Linked DNA regions of Homo sapiens: region 2 is linked to region 1. Evidence: promoter capture Hi-C in 16 types of primary human blood cells and fetal thymus (Javierre and others, 2016). All regions are on one chromosome and are shown on one strand. The core of a region is centred on a gene start or on the middle of the fragment in contact, and the rest is flanking DNA. Distances in the headings are between cores, read along the strand shown.

Region 1 (2,866 bases), core at 48-2,547:
AGATCGCGCCACGGCGCTCCAGCCTGGGCGACAGAGCGAGACTCCGTCTCCAAAAAAAAAAAAGTAGAATGCTGCACAACTTTTAATTATTAGTAATTATGTTTACCTCAGTGGTTCTCATAGTCACCCTAGCCAGCAGCATTAGCATCACTTGGGGCCTTGTTAGAAATGGAAAATTTCAGTGATGCCCACCCAAGTTTAAGAATCAATGTCTTGCTGGAAATGTAAATTAGCTAGGTCATATTTCTAAGCTTCAATTTCTTTGTAAGCTGAAATTACTTTAGCTGGATTCCCAATAACCCGAGAAGGATATCCATGAGGCTTACAAAGGTTAAATGTCAGGAAGACCCTCCATTTGCTTTGGTCCTCACAGGAGCTGAGAGTTGCTGGGAGCTACAGAGAGCTCTAGGTGGAGAGAGGAATCCAGGTCGCAATCAGGAAGCATTTCTGGTAAATTGTTTAAAGAGACCTCAGAAGAGACCTCCAAGACTATAGTATTGTTCTTTCCTCATTTCAAATAATCGTTTTCCTAATTTTATTATTTTTCTTAAAATAGTATAAGCTTATTTTAAAAATTGTGTAAGTTTCAGGACCTGGATCCACCCGACCTTAGTGATTGGAAACAACTAAGCGTGCCTGTGTTGAGATATTTCTAGCAAACTAGTGCTGCACACGACTAAGCTTTTTTTGTTTTCCTTTTGAATCTGGTACATGGTGTCGAGGTGCTCGGGATTGTTTATTCAGGGCGAGCGAAGCCACTTTTCGGAATAGTGGGGAGACTGGCTAACGACCCGCAGTCGCCTGAGGCGAGGAGAACCAAGTGCTGAGGGAGGGGGAGGCAGAGCCGAAAGAAGCCTCAGCTTCGGGGCGGAGGTGGGCGATTTAGGAACTGAAGCAGCCAGAGTTCCCGCCTCCTCCTACCTGAGCAAATCCTGGCTGAGCTGCTCCGACACCGTCGCCTTCAGCCGGCGCCGCTCACACGGCCCCTTCCTTTGCAACCCCTTACTGCAAACTCCAGCGGACCCCAGAAGTACCATGGGGGCCGCACTGCCTTCCCCACAGCGAGCCATGTCTCACAGAGGTACGACGCCCTGGAGGCCCAGTACTTGGCCTCACTTGCCCCGCCCAGGAGGAAGAAGGGGGCGTTTCCGACCGAACGCTCGGCTCCTACCCAAATCCGCCCCCTAGGGTAAAAGGTTGACGCCTCTCGTCGGTTTGTAGACAGTCTCCCAGAGAAGCCGGACCGCGGTGGGGAGCCTCAGAATCCCAGAACCGAGCCGGCTCTTGACCCAGGAAGAGCGTGCGCAGGCGTACTCGCTCTGTTTACTTCTGCCGGCGGGCACCCCGCCTCCCATGGCTCAGGCGCGGACCATCCCGCGGGGCAAACCAATCCTCAGGCTCCTTATCCCCTCCCCTCTTCTTTCCCTTCCGGTTGGTGTTCATTCATTTCAATGTTTTACTGAGGCTCGAGTTCAAATCAGCACATGCAGCCTTTCTATGCTGTGTCTTCCTGACAGGTCTACACTTTTTTCCAACGAAAGACTGGGCGAGTCACACCCCCTCACTTACCTGGCTTCTTAACCCTGAGGTATAAATGTTTGGGGCAAGAAAAATTGGCGATGGGAGGAGTAGGGGAAGAACTTCATAAACTGCCAGTCAGAACAATTCTGAGTTCAATATAAGAGATACTTACAGCATCTAGAAGGCCCCATCCCCTTCTTATCCAAGGAGTGGCTCATACAAGCTTTTGGACTTGATCGGAGAAAGCACAGGGCTTTGCATATAAAGCCCTAACATTTATGACCAAGAAGGGAGAAATAGGTAAGGGGCAAAGTCTTTGAGCAGTGAAGTGATGGATGGATGAAATATAGAATTCTCTTTTGTCCCAAATAAAGTAGCAAACTGATTATCATTTAAGGTTTTGGTATTTTTTATTTGATTACTGCCTCCAAAATAAGGAAACTCAGTAGTTCCGCTTCGGGCCGGGCAAGTCCCATCTACTTGGGAAGCGAGGCGGAATGATGGCTTGAGCCCGGGAGGTCGAGGCTGCAGTGAGCCATGATTGCACCACTGCACTCCAGCCTGAACAGCACAGCAAGACCCTGTCTCAAAAAAAAAAAAAAAAAAAAAAATCTGTTTCATTCACAAACTCTACACACAAGGTGAAGAATAGTAATTGCTTGGAAAATACATTGGCCAGGTTGCGGTGGCTCACACCTGTAATCCCAGCACTTTGGGAAGCCAAGGCGGGAGGATCACTTGAGCCCAGGAATTAGAGACCAGCCTGGGCAACATAAGGAGACCCTGTCTCTACCAAACAAAAAAAAAAAAAAAGGAGGCGGGGAGGGGAATATATGGACTTTGTATTTGTACCATAAGATTGGCCAAGAGGTAACCATTTCTTCAGATAATGCCCCCTCTCAAATATTCAGACATCTTAATTCTGAAAAATATAACTGGATAATTGATTTTTTAAAATTAATTCCCAAATGCTTGGATGGATAATTGATTCTTAATTATTCCTGTAGAAACGAGGGGTGTCAAAGATAACATAATAGTAGCTTATATTTGAATCCTTATTATGTGATAAACGCTACTCTATTTGCTCTGTGTGTTTTAACTCAGTTAATCCTTACAACAACCATTTAGCTAGGTACTGTCTTCAGACCTATTTACAGATGAGGAAGCTGAGGCATACAAAGGATAGGTAAACTTGGCCAAGGTCACACAATGTCATATATCACACTATAATATATGGTGTGTTACACCATAATAATGGTGTATTATAACCCAGGCAGTATTTATATTTTGACTGGCAAATTTAGTCAATTTACATATACTTTTCGTAGGAATGTAAATTGGTGCA
Region 2 (2,715 bases), core at 120-2,619, 190 kb before region 1:
CTTCAACAGAATTTCTCCTTAATGATATGCATTTTAAAAGTGTTAAAATTTCAGTTTTTGCTGTATTTTTCATAAGATGAAGTATCATTCTAAAATAGTTTACAAATTCATGATAAATTTTAATATTATTTTTCAGAACAGAAGAGTCTGTTATCTCCAAAGGATTGGTAAGATGTTTGTTCCCATTATAACTTAAATACATAGTTATGTCAACAAATAACAGCTGTTGACTTCACTATATATGTATCTGCATATATTTTAATCTGTAGGAGCTGCTGGAGAATAGTTTATTGAGAATAGAAGACAATAGTCTACTTTACCAGTACTTAGAAATCAAGAGTTTTCTTACTGTACCTCAGGTAAATAAAATATGTATTCTAATATTGAAAATAGCCCTTTGCCTGTTCTGAACTTAAAGTAAGGTCTTTTCTGATTCCTTTCCCACTCTTTTCTCTGCAACCTTTGAAAACTCTGGTGTAATGCTGTCCAGTAGAACTTTGACAATATGAAAGCCACTAGCCAAACTGAACACTTGAAATGTGACTAAGGAACTATTTTTTTTTTTTTTGAGGTGTAGTCTTGCTGTGTCGCCCAGGTTGGAGTGCAGTGGTGCTATCTCAGCTCACTGCAAGCTCCACCTCCTGGGTTCATTCCATTCTCCTGCCTCAGCCTCCCGAGTAGCTGGGACTACAGGCGCCCGCCACCACACCCAGCTAATATTTTTGTATTTATAGTAGAGACGGAGTTTCACTGTGTTAGCCAGGATGGTCTCGATCTCCTGACTTCGTGATCAGCCTGCCTCAGCCCCCCAAAGTGCTGGGATTACAGGTGTGAGCCACCACACCCAGCCGGAACTAAGTTTCAAATTTAAATTTTAATTTATTTAAACACGAATAGCTATTAGAGGCCACCATTATTGATAGCACAGCATCCAGTAGAAAAGCATAACTTTCTTCTTTTAACACTTTATTTCTGTAGGGATCTTGGAAAATGAAGCTTCTTTATGTTTCTCATAACTCAAGTTCTCAGGACTCCATCTAAGGCATCCACTGACTCATTACCAGAAAGACTAATACACATTGTGTTTTTCCCTCCTATGGTTTATTTTGCCCAATCCTCTTTGTTAGTTATGATATCCAAGGAAATCCTTAGATTTCAGTGTGGGAACTGGTTTTCCTAATATTTAAATAGAAAAACATGGTTTTTGTTAACATATTGTTTGATTGTTTTTAATTAATAAATTATATTTCTGTAGATTTGATTTCATTTTCTTGCCACTGTAGACATAATTGAAAATTATCGTTTGCTTTTAAAAGTACACTGTGTGACACTCTACTCAATATCACTTAAAAAATCAATTGTAGTTAGCTTTCTGGAATGGAAGGCTTAGGGAAAAATTAATTTACTTCACTTTTAAATCTCCTACCCTCACTTCTCTGAATTTTTAGTATCCTATTGATGTATTATAGTTGTTTGTTTGCAGTCAGTATAATCTGTTTACATCTGAATTTTACATTTTTTTATTTCCAGGGCTTAGTGAAAGTAATGACACTTTGCCCCATTGAGACACTGGTATGTAAATATTTGGTGACTAAAGAATAATGAGTTACAGTGAGAAAATTTGACAAATAATTTAATTTTCTTTTTAAAAATTTTAATTTGTGAAATTTTTATTTAGGAGGTACAAGTGTGGATGTATTACATGCATAAAATGGATAGTGATGAAGTCTGGGTAAGCTTTATTCATTTTATATAATAATATTGTTTGTTCCATTTTAGAGGAAAAAGAGTTTAGCTATGCTTCAGCTGTATATTAACAAGTTGGATTCACAAGGCAAATATACATTATTTAGGTATGTATCAAGCATGGCTAATTGCTAAGTGTGTGGTTGATTAAAAGTCATGTTAATGCCATGTAATTGTTTTAGGGCATAGTATGTCGGTATGTTTTACATGTAATTCAACTCTGGTTGGAACCCATATTATAAATTCTCAGTGATGGCTAGAGAAAGGGTTAATCAAATATTTCAGACATACTATATATATGTCTATATTTTGTATGACTAATAGTATATATTGCAGTTCAATCAATTGGAATACTCTAAATTTGAAATAGACTTAAAAATAATTAAACTGAGATTGATGATGCTCCTGCTGGAACTTTATGTATGTCACTAATCTCCATTACTCACAGTTCAAATTGATGGCTCTGGAATTACAACTTTGATAGGCTATGCACTATGTTAATAGTAAGAGCTTACTAATACTGCTCTTTGAGGTGGATAAGATTCTAGCAACTCTCTAAGTTAAAGATTGGTAAACTTTCTAATTAATTTTCTGTGAAGAGCCAAATAGTAAATATAGGTTTTATGGGCTATACAGTCTCTGTTGCAAGTGCTCAACTTTGACTTTGTATTGGGGATGGGTGTGTTCCAGTAAAACTTTATTGATAAAATTGGGCATCAGGCTGGATTTGCTAAAATGTCTTACCTGGGATTGGCCAATATTAGTACTGTTCTTTTTTGGCGGGTGCAGCAGTGTGATCATGGCTCACTGCAGCCTTCACCCTTGGCCCCCCAGCTTCAGGTGATCCTCCCGCTTCAGCCTCCCAGGTAGCTGGGACTACAGGTGCATGCCATCATGCCCAGCTAATTTTTTTGTGGAGATGGGGTTTTGCCATGTTGCCCAGGCTGGTCTCAAACTCCTGGGCTCAAG

Evidence for each region. Contacts are between HindIII fragments. The CHiCAGO score rates a contact against its expected background, and 5 or more counts as called.
Region 2: a contact is called between a fragment that was not itself captured here and the fragment with the promoter of BTBD8 in region 1, in 3 of 17 cell types (endothelial precursors, M2 macrophages and M1 macrophages). The highest score is 5.9, in endothelial precursors.

What each region holds. Positions count from the first base shown.
Region 1 is chr1:92,078,776-92,081,641 of GRCh38, reverse strand. It overlaps BTBD8 (BTB domain containing 8), which reads right to left and starts at 1,297. Exons shown (of 18, transcript NM_001376131.1): 1 at 922-1,297. The coding sequence starts at 1,070. RefSeq lists an enhancer at 1-24. The HindIII fragment of the contact is 1,063 bases long and covers 684-1,746 here.
Region 2 is chr1:92,265,557-92,268,271 of GRCh38, reverse strand. It overlaps GLMN (glomulin, FKBP associated protein), which reads left to right. Exons shown (of 19, transcript NM_053274.3): 10 at 137-167; 11 at 270-359; 12 at 1,531-1,572; 13 at 1,780-1,853. Among named protein-coding and RNA genes, the nearest start is that of GLMN, 32 kb to the left of the region's middle. The HindIII fragment of the contact is 741 bases long and covers 999-1,739 here.